2 separate regions of the Homo sapiens genome follow, and region 2 is linked to region 1. The links are contacts of gene promoters, found by promoter capture Hi-C in blood cells and fetal thymus (Javierre and others, 2016). All regions are on one chromosome and are shown on one strand. The core of a region is centred on a gene start or on the middle of the fragment in contact, and the rest is flanking DNA. Distances in the headings are between cores, read along the strand shown. Region 1 holds the start of UBE2E1 (ubiquitin conjugating enzyme E2 E1). Region 2 has its middle 140 kb from the start of UBE2E1.

The links. The method cuts DNA at HindIII sites, captures the fragments that hold promoters and counts their contacts. A CHiCAGO score of 5 or more calls a contact.
Region 2: a fragment that was not itself captured here is called in contact with the fragment with the promoter of UBE2E1 in region 1 in 1 of 17 cell types (monocytes); the score reaches 6.0 in monocytes.

Annotation. Positions count from the first base shown.
Region 1 is chr3:23,803,181-23,810,449 of GRCh38, forward strand. It overlaps UBE2E1 (ubiquitin conjugating enzyme E2 E1), which reads left to right and starts at 2,775. Exons shown (of 6, transcript NM_003341.5): 1 at 2,775-2,908; 2 at 4,057-4,241. The coding sequence starts at 4,090. UBE2E1-AS1 (UBE2E1 antisense RNA 1) reads right to left here and starts at 3,725. Exons shown (of 2, transcript NR_046652.1): 1 at 3,639-3,725; 2 at 844-1,534. RefSeq lists silencers at 2,711-2,820, 2,901-3,030, 3,221-3,520, 3,721-3,900 and enhancers at 4,201-4,290, 6,883-6,942. The HindIII fragment of the contact is 12,732 bases long and covers 1-6,433 here.
Region 2 is chr3:23,657,887-23,665,155 of GRCh38, forward strand. No RefSeq gene overlaps it. Among named protein-coding and RNA genes, the nearest start is that of UBE2E1, 140 kb to the right of the region's middle. The HindIII fragment of the contact is 1,511 bases long and covers 4,060-5,570 here.

The sequences.
Region 1 (7,269 bases), core at 1,525-4,024:
TTTGCTTTGATTTCTTTATCTGTAACATGAAGAGTGTGAACTAGAAGATATCTTAGGCCCCTTCTAGGCATAAAATACTATGATTCCTTGAGTATATGTTTCTCCTGGAAGGTTTCTTATATTTTCATCAATTCTAAGTTATAAAAACCCCATGTCCTCTTTTCTGCCCTGGTGACGAAAAACAAAAACATAAAAGCAACAAATAACCCCAAACCCATGAACTAAGAAAATTCCACTAGAGTGGAATTATTAATAATTTACTTTGCGTAACAGCTAATAAATCACCTTACTTACAGATACATATTTGACCTTGCCAGTCAGTAGAGCACAGGTATTTCTGCCCTTTATGGATGAGGGAACTGAGGCTCAGGGAGGTCAATTTAGCTTTTTAGGCCTTGTAGTTAATAAGAAGGAGAGATAGAAAGTTGTGTATGAATTTTTTTTCCCCTAAGACAGCTGCATACAGGTCTTAAAAATAATTCGACATAAAGATTAGTCTTTTGAGAGGACTGGATTCTTTTCTAAACATTTTGAAGTTTTTATTCCCTGTCATCAGGTCATTCCAAAACGATAAAGCACTAACTTAAGCTAGCTGGAATTAGAGATTAGGGGGAACAGTACACAAAAGAGGGCAAGAAACCTTCCAGACAGGTGGTTGGGAAATCACTTTTCCTTATAGGAGGAGCTGTTAGATTTCATGATTTCTTTCACAAGGAATCAGTCCAACCCAAGCATCAGTAACACAACACAAAATATCATGTTCTGTTACAAAAGAATTCTTATTATAGCTGGTAGGCAATTTATGCAAACCAATATTAAAGAAAAAATTCACCTACTGTCCTGATCACTTCAGCAAATCAAACCTTTTATTTTCCTGTGATCTCTGCTAGTTCTTGTCTTTATAACACATGATTTTTTTACTGGTTGTATTCATAATGTAGACATATATTTTTAAGTATCAGAAATCCAAATTTTCATAGGAGGAAATTTCAATTTTAATAACTATTTTTAGATTATTTTCCTCATCCTGAGTTTATTTCATCTTCTTATTGTTTTCTTCTGAATTTACATCTTTTCATCAGAACAAAAAGAATACAATCAGTTTTTCAGAAGTTTAAAAAATTTTTTCAAATATATAGCAAAGAATGTCATCATTTTTATATACTCTACCAGGACTCCTGAAACCAAACACTTAAGAAAGGTTATGTCTGGAAATTTTTTCAAAATCTATATGCATTTCAGTGGTGGAGAAATAGTTCTGTCTGGAAGCAGGAGGCTGAAATTATGACCCTGAAGATTTCTTCCAGCTTTTGAACTTCTTATTCTATGACAACTCCTGGTAGATACAGGTTTCCTGGTAGGGATTGAGCAAGAAGCATGCACAATTACTTTATGAGTCTTGATAAAGCTGGAATTTCAGGTTGATGGTTAGAAGGAGTTCGGCTGGGTCGTGAGAATGCTTGTTTTCCTGGTTACTGGATATGCCATGGGCTGTATATCTTGTGTTGTCCTGTGGTAACTGAAGCCACTGTTGCTGTGGAAAATGATGGCAGTTTGAATGAGATAATTTAGAGTGACCTATGGAAATCTGAGGCTGTCTCCTTAATGTACAAGACCTTGTATGTGTGGCACTGTTGTATTTGAATGGCACACATCTCTTTAGTTCCCTTCAACTGAAATGACAAAAGGTGAGAAACTGAATCGTAATTTGATGGCTTAATATTAAAAAAAAATTGGCAAAAATGCTAAATAAGGAACAATTCAGAAGAATTGCTGATCATTTCAAAAATATTATTTGCATAGCATTTATAGGTAGCTAAAGAAAGAGAAAAATGGCTTAATATTTTAAAAATAATTTGGTCAATTTAGCGATCTGGGGATTCTGCGATCCCCAGAACTTTGCATCCAATTTCCAAAAACCAAACCTTACATCTAATGTAAAATGACACAAAAAATTCTAAATCCAGTCTAATTCAGTAGTATATAGCTTATTCCCAGTGATGTCTCACATTCGCAAGCCCGTTACACGTTGGTTTTACCTGTCACCAAAACCTTTGTATCACTCTTATAAAAAACCACATCACTTTCTATAAAAAGTGAGTGGAAGAATCTAATATTGTAAAACTGCACGTGCCTCGCGTGACCTGAGCAGAAAATTCCTAGTTTGGGATTTTCTCACAGGCATACCTAAACTGACCTCTGCTCCTAGCAGGTAAATTGCTAGAAGGAGAAGCAAGTGTCAGTCCAAAGAAAACCCTTGTTGTGTGATTTTTTTTTTCTCTTTAATCGCTTTTTAGGTGGAGTACCCGCTGCATTCTCTAAAGTCTTTGCCACCACCAGATTACCAACGTTTTCACCAATTTGCCACCTCCCTACTCCTCTCCTTTCCAAAAGCCCTCATTGGAAAGAACTTTCTCTCGTGACCCCCCTATTCCATCTAGTTCCAATCACTCCCAGCGCCCCCCATCTCCATCGGCTTCCCCTCTCCCGCCCAGAATCCAGGTTCCCAAACCACTTAAGAGAAAATTCACAACCCTCGCCCCCTTCCCGGGCGTCCGGAGGAGGCGCTGGGGTGGGGGTGTCTGTGGGGGACAGGGTTTCCTGGGGTCTCCTGGGTCTTCCTCGCGCACCCCCAGGAGGTGTTGCAGGGGGAGGGGAGCGCGGGTGGGTGGGACCGGGCCGGGTGGGGGAGGGGTGAGGGCGAGGAGGAGGAGGAGGAGGAGGCGGCGGCGGAGGAGTGGTGTGTGTGCGAGCGTGTGTGGCTGGGGGAAGCCATTGCCTGTTTAATAGTTGCTGTTGCTGCACTTCCGCTTCTCTCCCAGCGAGAGAGAGACACGAGTGGCCAGGCCCAGCCGCAGCCGCAGCAGCAGCCGCCGCGGCGGCACGGAGGAGCCAGACACAAAGAGAGGTACGGGGATCCCCCCAGCGGCCCGCCGCCCCCCGGCCGCGCCGCCGGGCCTCGGGGACACCCCTCGCCGCCTCCCCCGACTCGCGCCGCCGGGGCCGCCGGGCCGCAGGGCACGGGGCCGGCGCGGGGGGGGAGCGGAGAGGGGCTGGGGAGCCCCAGGGGTCCGGGGCCCGCCCGCGGGGGATGGGCAGGGACCCCGGGCCGCGTGGGGTGCGGGGGCCGCCCGCATTGAGGACGGGGGTCATTGTGGCTCGAACTGTCAGCGCTGCCCCAAGAGCCCCCCACTGGCCACCGAGGGGCCCGGGAGCGGGGGTGGGAGGGAGTTGGGGGAGCCCCGTTTTCCCCAGGGGCGGGGGTTCGCGGGGATTAACCCCTCCGGGGCGGAAGGGCTCATTGTTATGTCTTCGCTGCGGAGGCCGACCCCCCCATTCCCCGCCGCAGCCCCTATCCCCCTACAGGAGTGGCGATCGGGCGTGTGCTCCGGACCCCCGCCCGGCCGCATAGCTGTGAGCAGGGCGGCCAGAGGCAGGCAGGCCGGGAGGGGCGTCGGGGCGCGGCGCGGGGGGGCCTCGGGCCTCGTCGCCCCTGCCCCCCGCCGGCCTCTCCCTTCCCCCACCCGGGCACCCGCTCCCCGCCTCCGTCCCCCTGTTTCGGCTTCCTCTCTTACTCCTTCCCGCCCCTCCTCTCTTCCCGACCTCGCCAAACTCCGCTCGTGGCCCCACAGTCTCACCCGGGCCACCGGCCCCTCACGACCCCCGGAAAGCGGACAAAAACAGCCCCGAGGCCGGCCGGCCGCCGGGACCTTCCCTCCCTGCCCCGCCGTGGCGCCCCGCGCCCCCCGCCCTGCCCTCCTTCGCCTCCCGGGCTACTCCCTCCCTGCCCAGCGGAGAGCCCCGGGGGGCGAGGGAGGGGCCTCTCTCCTAGCTCCAGACCGTTTTCCCACAGCGTTCCCCACTTGGGGCCAAAAATAAACAAGCCGCGTCCGATTTGCAAAAGCCTTAATGGGCCTGCAGACTTTGAAAAGCGAGTGGAGGGCGGTGGGCGGCCGCGTGCGCCCCTGGTCAATGCCCTCCTGACAGCACCCGAGTTCCTTATTTACACTGGCTGCATGGTTTGTGTGTTTCTGTTTTGTTTCTCTCCCCCTGCAGGGGCTGTTTGCGGGGTGGGGTGGGGGGTTCGCTATGTCGGATGACGATTCGAGGGCCAGCACCAGCTCCTCCTCATCTTCGTCTTCCAACCAGCAAACCGAGAAAGAAACAAACACCCCCAAGAAGAAGGAGAGTAAAGTCAGCATGAGCAAAAACTCCAAACTCCTCTCCACCAGCGCCAAGAGGTACTGTGCTCTTTTTTTTTTCCACAGGCTTCCTATTTCCGAACTGCCTCTTGCTGCATTTGGTCTGCCTCCCAATGAGGATAGCTTAAACGCTCCTCATGGTTTATGTGTTCTTAAAAATGAAAGAAGGGCCTTGGAAGCCCTAATTATTTTCTCTATTGCTGCTTCTGTTTTTAAATCATTGCTCACATGCAGCTGTTGCGGCTTGCCTCTCGCATTTCTTGCTGAAGTTTGTAAGATTCCTCGTTACTTTTATTAGTGACCCCCAAATCTGATTTCAGATTTCTTGTCCTACTAATGGTTAATCTGTGACCTTCCCCAAGGCCATGATCCCATTTCTTAATTACTAATACCAGCCCAGAGAACTGCATCAAAATGAATTCTGTGACCATTTTACCTTCTCCTCACCTGTTGCATGGATGATCTTTTCTAAATAGAGCTTTCTTCACAAATTGCATAAGGAATAAGAAACTCATATTAGCAGGTACAAAATTTAGTAGGTGAAGACAGATGTTTTCTGGTGGAATTTAAAGAGATTTTTCTGAGAGTTGAGGCAAATGAATGAATCAGTAAGTGACTATAAAATGGTTATTCTAGGTTATTTTTGTGGTTCTCTTTAAAAACTTCAGTTTACCAATTTCAGGGAGACTTGTCTTTTTTTCATGCTATTTGCTGTCCTCATGCTGTGAAAATGTTACTTTGCCTTATTTTTTCAATTTAAGTGGTCTCCCTTTTACTTTATTCTTTTCCTCTTAAGGCCCTGAAGGTAGCTACTTTTTATCCCTGCCATCCTAAGCGGTCACCCTTTTTCTTTATTCTTTTCCTCTTAAGCCTCTGGAGGTAGCTACTTTTTACCCCTGCCATCCTTCAGTAATATCCTCTGATCGCCATGACCCTCAAAATCATCTTTAGTGGATTCCTAGGAGCTCTGAGACACCCTTTCATAAATCCTTCTGCTCTCAGAGTTAGGCAGTTGTTAAAAAGGTGGCAAACCAGGAAGATAGTAAGAACTCCAAATGATGGGATAGGGATACCCTTCTTAAAAATTTTTAAAATAAAGTAGAACATGAGACTTTAGATCTCTCCACTGAGTAGTGAGCCTGGAAGTCAGGGTTTGAGAGTTTGTTCTGTCATTCTCCCTGACTTGTAATTTGAAAACTTGGCAGTGTTTTGGTGACCTAACCATGGGCTGATGAAGGAGTGACTTTTAAAAAATAGTGTGGAGGTCTTAAGTGGCAAGGTGCCTCTGCAAGATTGTTCTCATTTTTATAGGTTTGGTTTGATTGTACAGCTTCTCAGGAGGCCTGACTGACCCTCACTGATTAGCCCTGTGCGGTTTTCCTGGAACCTGACATCTACTCTGCCCACTTGGGACGGGCCCTTCCTTAATACTGCGCCCCACCTCAATCCTCTAGGCTCTCTGATCCTCATTCACGTTTTGGCCTCACGTGCTCAAGCCAGGATACTTGCTTTTGGTAATTTGCATTTTTATATTTTGCTAGATATCCCTGGTGTACATGAATATATTTGGGGGTAAAGACACAGGTATCAAATAGAAAATACTCTGCTTTTGTTGTGAGTGAATTACAGAGAGGGGGATTTTTTTCACTAGACATACTTTGTTTATTTTAAACAAGTTAAGAATTTATTTGGAAGTTCTGGAAAAGAGATGATAGGTGTAGAAAAATGAAAGGTGGGAAGCTACAAATAGTAATTTTACCTATAAATTAACATCAGGGCTTTTGTTTTGTTTTTGCAATGAATTTAGCTCCTTGATAATCTTGCTGAAAGAGTAGCTATTAGTGTTAAAGCAGACCTAAAGTTAATAGAAAAAGGTAAAAAAATGGAGAGGGACAGTGTATCCAGGAAAGAGAATGGGGAAAATTGATGTTAGTGGGACCCTATAGAGGCTGTTCTGTGAAGTATATTGATTTGGAAGGTAGGTGTTGCCCATAGAATTGGAAGGGGCACATTCACCAGGAGTAGGAGTGAAAAAGAAGCCTGAATTGGCAGACTAACAGGCTGCTAACTGCATGTTGGAAAGTGGTTTCTAAACCGTGGGTAGAGGAAAGCCCCCATTGCAAGTGGTCTGAACAAGAATGACTCTCTGGAAATAGGTATGAGTTACTCCTGCAAATCTCTTGCCAGTTTTTTGGAAATGCAAATGCTGTCTGTCAAGATGAAGTTGATAAAGCTTTTTGGTATTAACGCTTCTTAGGTATTAAAGAAACAACTACCTTTTTTTGTGACTATTTTATAGTGGGAGTTGGGTTGGCAAGGAGGACTGAAGTCAATATGTATTTTTATATGCGTTGTGCTCCGGGGAGGAAATTTTTGCCTACGTGTGTAGGTCTTAAAATACAGTTATTTGAAAAGATTCAGGTAAAGAATCAGGAAACCAATTTTCCAAACTTTGAGTCTAATGTACAGTCATGAGTCAAACAGCGGGAGTATGAATGTCTCAGAAATGAAACGCTTTTTGATAGTAGAATTTAGCAGGACACAAATACGTGTCAATTGAGATTGTGAACAAACCCCTTTCTAAAGTTGACAGATACGTAGGGACAGGAAATGTCCTCCAGTAGGAAGGTTTATAGAACCTCCCCCAGTCGTCGTCCTTAAAACCTGTTCCTCATTACATATAGCTCGTCCGTCCTCCTACCCGCAGAAAACCTTTGGAAAGGAAAACGTATCCTTTGTGAATTAGATTGCTCTGTGTGTGTGTTTAAAATTTTTTTAACTACAGTGCTGCCTCGGTGAGATTTTTAAGTTGTAACATAGCCCCATTGGGCTTTATATGATAGGAGGAGGAAAGGTTATAAAATTAGGCACCGTTTAGAAGGTGGAAGAAGCTTAGAGGCCCTAAACTGTCGTATTAATTGATGCTCTAAGTGCCTAGGTAAGCAAAAGACAAAGGCCAGGGCTTGGTGTGAACTGCCTGGTGGCTTCGGCCTATGAGTGGGGGATGGGGCCCTTTGTGAAGTCGAGGGTTGGTGCGGAGGGAGAAAACTGCAGGTCTCCAGTCTAT
Region 2 (7,269 bases), core at 3,565-6,064, 140 kb before region 1:
GCTCAAGACCCTCTGAGACTGAGAACCACTTGATTCTAACTCTCGTCTCCTTGTCAAACTTCTCTCCCTAAGAATAAAGGAAGGGTAATTGGGCCAGCTATGAAGTCGCTCACATACTCTAAGAATTTGCCCATTTCTGCAGAGGAGGCAACCCAGAGAATGCTGGGAGGGAACATTCTTTTTGTCAGCCATAAAGAGGCCCAACTCATCTGCCCTGTGAGGTTCCCCAGCCCAGGATTTAGGAACTGAGCTAAACATATTACAATTAGCAATTCAACATCTTGCGTTTACAGAAATCAAGCCATAGCTATGTGATGAAATATTAAATATATGAAATGGCCACCTGTGTAGGTTCAAAATAGTTCATTCTAATATATTTTATCATTTGACAGATTCCAGAAAGGAACATGTTCTCTTACTAACTTAATACTTCTTTCCTTATTCTTCCCTGTTTTTTTTCTTTAAAAACATCAGATCTGAGCAAAAAGATGGAAGATGAAATATATCTATTAAGTAAAATTAAAACTCAACCTTTAAAGTTTTATCTTCTTAAACAATAAATAAAATGTAATTTTTTGCATACTAGATGTATGGAACTCCGCTAAGTATTGAGACTAGGAGACGGTGTATACAACCATAGCACTTATTTTGTCAGTGAGAAAATATATTTTAAAAAGGACTGTTCAATTGCTCGCATGAAATAATCTGAAAAAATTATGAGAAACCAAAACGAAGCATCACCCCCCAACACACACAACAAACCCCACTCTGAACTATCTGTAATAGAACTAAAGATATTTAATTATGTGATAGAGGTCCTAGTCTTTGGGTTTTATTATTGGGTATTATGCCCCATAGAAACAAATCATTGGTCAATTACAAATGTATTGAAGCATAAAATACTTTATTAAGGCTGTGATTACTCAAGTGTGGTTTCTGAAGATGCCTGCACCTTGCTGGGTTCATTTTCACTGGCTTTAACTTCATCCTCCATGGCGCTTCTAATCTATGCAAATGGTTAGCATATCCATGTACTTAATAACAAATTACTGGATCTATTACATACTTAAGTCTTTGGCTATGACCATGTAATTAGATCCCTGGGTGCTTTAAAGGAGAGGAGCTTCATATAAATAGAGAGAAAACAATAAACACGCATGAGTTGGCCTGCCCATATGTTTTACATTTATAACCCCCAGTGCTGGTGCCCAGCAGGCACTCAAGGAACACGGGTGTTGGTGAGAGGGGTTTTATTGGGGGGCATTATTGAATTCACCAAGCCTGGCTGTAAGTCAGCATAAAAAGGTTTTAAGTATAAGTTGATGACATTAAAGAAAAAAAAAAAAACTCTAAGGTAAAAGAAATAACAGAATAATTTTATATAAGCTATTATAAAAACCGTAATCACAAACTTCTAGATGTAAGAAAAACAAGTTTAGGCCTATATGCAATTACTAAATGGAAAAGAAGGAAGGAAGAGAAACGAAACGACACTGTTAGCTGTTGACAGACTAGAGGAAGTGAAGCTCTCGGCTACTTGATATAAATAAACGTTCATTGAACACAAGAGGTTGTGGATGATGCCACCCCTGTTAGGCATTGAAGCAGAGGTGCCCCTTGGGGTCAAGTCCCCAGCTGTGGTGTCACTCCTCGTGTTCAGCAGCCGTCCTAGAGCAAATGTCCACCTCGTACCACTTCAGATTTTCTCCTCCCTTTGTTTTATCTTTCTTCTTCCCTTTCCTTTCTTTTTCTCCTAAGCAATCTTTAAAATAATTTTAAAATCCTATAAACATTCTAAATTGAATTCCTCAGGCAAGCCTCAAACTTGATCTTCATTGTTCCTTTTCAAAGTTCCAGAGTTTAATACTTTCTATTGGTTTGAAAAAAAATTCTAAACACAACACACTAAAAACGCAGCATGCCCACCACCCAGAATGAACAAAGATTGACATTTTGTTATTAAAAAAAAATTAGAAAGCAAGAGAATATTACAGATACAATGAAAGGCTCTTTTGTCCCTGACTTAATCTCATTCTCTTCTCTCCCTAAGACATGCATGATCACTAAGCTAGTGTGTCCCTCCCGTTCTTGTTCTGTGCTTCTACTAAGTGCACATGTGTCATAAACTGCAGTGTGGCTGGGTTATTACTTTACAGTTACAGGAATGTATACCCATCTGTAAGTTGCTGTTTTCACTCAGCACTGAGCTTGGGCCATGTGTGTGCATAGAGACAGCATTCACTCCCATGTTTCACCCTATGAACATTCCTCAGCGTATTTATTCCCATCTTGATGGCAGTTCAGGTTGTTTCCAATTTGCTGACATTTCAAATGACACTGCGATTTTGTAGAGTGCACGTGGATTCCACTTTTGTATGTGTAGCCAAATTGCTCTGCAAAGTGATGGCAACCAGTTGACCCTCCCACTAGCAGCTCCTGTATAAGAGCTTCTGTGTCCCTGCATCCTCTCAGGCAGTCAATTTTGTCAGACTTTTTGATTTCTGATAATCCGATGGGAGCTCTTTGGGGTTTTAACCTTCATTTTCCTGATGACTAGGGAGGTTGAGCACACGCTCTATGGGGGATGTTGGCCGTACTTACTCCGATGTGCCCTCTTTGTCCCTGTCCTTTTTTATTTTTCTAATGGAGTTAAAAAAATAATTTATAGTTCTTTGTATATTTTGAATATAATCTTTCATCTGTTTTATTTGTTGCAAACATCTCCTAGCCTGTCATCAGTCTTTTAACACTTTTATGATGTCTGCTACATATATTTCCAGGTGGTTTTCATTTTGAACTCAGATGTATCCACTTTTTGAGTTCAGCTTTCTTTTGCATCCTGTCTAAGAAATCCTTGCCTGTCCCTAAGATTAAATATTGTAAAGTTTTATATAGGTCTTCAGTCCATGAGGAATTTATTTCTATATGGTGGGCAAGGTGGAGACCTAATTTTATTGTATTTTTTCCATTTCAATAGCCAGCTGTCCTAATATCCTGATTTGTAGGGCCATTGCTATCACATCCCAAGTCCCAAATATAACTAGGATGGTTTCTGTGATCTTTATTCAGTCCTATTTATTGTATCTTTTTTCTATCTTTCTACCCGGTTTATCTACACAGCTGCCAGGATATAGTAAGTCTATGAAGTGGTTATTTGATTTAATCAAAATATGCATGGAAGGCTATAAGTAATTTTTTGGTTTCATGAAAGAGCGCTGAGGAAGGTGAAGACTGCACTTCTCTTTGGATGGGGTTTAGTAAATGTTAAATGAAACCAAGAACCAGATAAGGAAGGGTTGGGGGTATGGGAGAAAAGAACTCAAATTTGTTGAGCACCTAAAACTGTGCCAAGCGTAATCTTGGCTTGTTGTGTTAATCATTTCATCTTCTGTGCTTTGAAATCAGTTTTATTTGTTCCCATTTTACAGATGAGAAAACAGGAGACGCAGAGGAATGAATAACTTGCTCAAAGTCATATAGTGAGTGGGTAGGAGGGTTGGGAATGACACTTAAGTCTGTCTATCCCCCAAAGACTTTGACATCTCTGCCACAAAAACTAAAGAATGTTTGGCTGGACAGAACATCTCATCTGGGATACTGATGCTTCTCGTCTAGGAGAAGTCACTTCACCCCAACTCATTTGAGTTTAGGGCTGGGAGTAGATGGTGGCCCTCAGCAGAGCTCAGGTTTGCTGACATCTGTTACAGTGCACCAGGCAGTTTACATACATCATCTAATTACCTCAACAACAGTCCTGCAAAGGAGAAATGATTAGCCTACAATTTCAGACAAGGAGACTGGGCTACAGAGACAATAAGCATTTTCCCAAAGTCACACTGCTATGAAGGTGTATTTTCAGGGCCGCAGCTGGTCTATACACCTTCATGTACATTAGATTACAAAGTCAGCTCCTACTCCTTCCCCCTTACTCCTAGGGAAGTAAATGTTGAATGAAACCAAGCTCTACAGAGGCTTGACTGGCAGAGTGTAGGCTGGATTTCAACCTGCCGACTGAAATCCGTGCATGGAGGCTTGACCCTAGGTTGGTCTGACTCCAAAAGCTTGTTCCATTTCTGGTACATCCCATTGTTTTAGACTAGTCCTCACAAACTTTTATGGTTCCACACCATTCAGTTGAGACAAAAGACTGTAATGGTCCACCCATTTCAACCTTCCATGGAAGAGCAACTAGATAGTAACAAGAAGAGGTTGTTTACATGTAGATGTTTTATTTAGCTGTAGCTGTGGTTAACCACGATGCATACTAGGTCATGAAATCTGTTTATTAGGAAAAAAAGTAAGTCAAAGTCGTGATGCCAAGTGTTTTCACAGCCGGACCTCTTAGGAGAGGACAAAATAGAGTTCTGTGCATCCTCAAGTATGGTGCTAATTTTGTTTATAAATTCCTAGTAAGAAGACCTGAGTGGTACATAAAAATGGAAGTCGGTGAAGGAGTTGCATTTTTTAATTAGCTCACAGCCACCAGAGACCTCACTTTGAAAACCACTTCCTTAAACAAAAACAAAAGTCAGACCACACTGACTTTCTTTGAATTCCCAGTAGAAATCCTAGTATGGGAATATTCGGGAGCGTTTATTACCGAGTACATAGATGAGCTGTTCCCCATTCTTTCCAGATGTAGACACTTTTCTGAGCTGTGTCCACATGACAATGGCTTGTCGAGGCACACAAACCACAGGCACAGATCTGAAATGATGGCAGCCCACTCGCTTATAGAGAAAGAGACAACCCGAATGTAGAACCGGAAGGAGCCATGAGAACTGGAATCGGATTATCCCATAAGAAATGATAAAACGGTTGTTATAGCCGTGCCAGAAATATGACCAACTAGAAAGAGTGGGGACAAATGACTTGATGGAAGTTTTAGGGGAAAAAAAAATAGATTCCACGTGTCTTAAATCCAGATATTGTTCTCAAAAGACCATGTTTAATAGCTGAGTGAAGCAAAGAACAAAATAATGCCCTTCAGGGAGAAATAGAGAACCTGAAACCAATAACAGCCTCCTCTACATTTATGGCTTTTCCTGACTGAGCAGCTATTGGCTCAAACTTAATGGAGTTAAGGCATTTATTACCACATTTTCTTTTTACCTGGATTCTTGTTGGCCTCCTTAGCTAATTTTTTTTAGTTCAGTACCTGTCCTTCAGGCTATCTTTCCATAAAAAAGGCAGCAAAATGATGAACTTTTCTGCATTGTTCTGGGCAAAGAAATGACCACTTCATTTGCTTTTCGGAGAGGGGATCCTGTTTTTCTTTTTGTACAGTCCTCACTCTGACCAAGAGCGTGCAGCACCTGGATCTGGTGATTCAGATGTTCTGTGACCCCAGCTTCAGTCCTCAAGGATTCCTTTCTATTTGGACTGAGGGCCGTGGGTGTCTTTTCAGTGATGAGACTGAAAAGCAAAAACTCATTCTCAGTTTGCTGCTCTTGGTGTTCCTCTGGTTGCATTTTCCAACTCCGTCTGTGACCCAGCTGTGTTCTCAACAATACCTCAACTTGATGGGGCTTGGCACTTGTTTCTTTTCGTCAATGGTGTGTTATGAATAAAGCTTGTAAAAGCTGCTTCCTTGGAAACTGTTAACATGGTCTCATCCCACAGGCCAAGTTTTGCAGCCCTTTGCTATCCTTATCTATAGTAGACCAACTCAAAGTTCCTAACTGCCTTTTATAAAAGAGCTTGGAACTCCATGGTTCCTGGCAATGAGTGCAAAAATTTGACATTTCTATTAGCAAGAAAATATGAGAAAATATTTCTTGTTTTACCTTGCCCCTTCCCCTGAATTCCTGTCTTACCAAAGGAAAAAAAAAAAAAAAGAGTTAAAATCTAATGCATCTCAACTAATGTGGGCAACTAGCAGTTTTGCTTTTTTAGCCAAAGAACTCTACCCCCACTGCTGCCCATTAAGTAGTAAACAGGCCAAATAAGGAAATGATTAATCTTGCCAAGTTCACTCACCATAATTTGGTTGGCAAGCTTTAGCGAACATGGTATAATAGAATTTCAACACTGGAAGAGATTTGAAAAGTCATATAGTCCAACCATCCAACGGATGCTTAAATGTCGTCCTCTGTGCAGCAGTGGCTCTGAATCCTGGCTGCACATCACAACATCACAATAACTGCAAACACTTGTTCAAAATAAAAGTCATTGGGCCTCACTTCCGTGAGATTCTGATATAGTAGGCCTGGGATGGACCTGCTTATTTTGAATAACACCCAGGCGAATTGATGTAGCCACTCCACAGAACAGTGCTGCAGCCTTTGGGGAACAGGCCAAGTATCAAAAGCCTTTGCTTGGTCTTCTGCAGCACCTGGTCCTCACTATCTTCCAAAGTATCCGAATTTGGGCAGCTCTGACTGTTGACAAAATGTGTCCTCAGTCTCCGTGGAAATATTTCTCCTTACAACTTCTACCTATTGACTCTACTGCTACCCCTTGGAATGACACAGAGCCAGTCTAACCACCGGTGAGCCTTCAGGTATTGGAAGATGGCACTCATGGATCTCTTCTGAGATCTCCTCTCCAAACCCAACATCTTCCTACTCTGTAAGAGCTCCCTTATGGCTGGTTCTGACCTTTTTCCCCAGTGGATTTCCTCTCCTGAGGATGGATCTGACTTCGGGATTTTAAATTCAGTAAATCTAAATTCTAATGCAAGCTCTTCCTCTTACTAGCTGTATGGTTTGGGGCATGATAGTCAGCTTTTATGACCCTCCACTTAGTCATCTGTAAAGTGGAGATGATGCTACTGATTGCAGGGTTGATTGTGGGGCCAGCACAGAGCCTGTCACACAGCAGTTCCCCAGGTCAGTCTCCTTCCACCAAGTAGATATGTGAAAATATTATATATGTGGCTCACATTACATTTCTATTCAATAATGCTAATCAAAACATTATATTCCAAGAGAAAGTTGCTGTCCAAGACAGAGTCAGAGCAGAAATCTCATGGAAGTCTTTGGAATTTCTGACAAAATTTCAGGGAGTGTGGAACAAGGGTTGAGCTGGTCATACCTACGCCAGTGATTCTTTTGTTTTTGTTGTTTTTTTTTTTTTTTTTTTTTTTTTTTTTTGAGACAGAGTCTAGCTCTGTCACCCAGGCTGGAGTGTAGTGGCACTATGTTGGCTCACTGCAACCTCTGCCTCCTGCATTCAAACGATTCTCCTGCCTCGCCTCCTAAGTAGCTGGGATTACAGGCACCCGGCTAATTTTCGTATTGTTAGTAGAGATGGGGTTTCACCATGTTG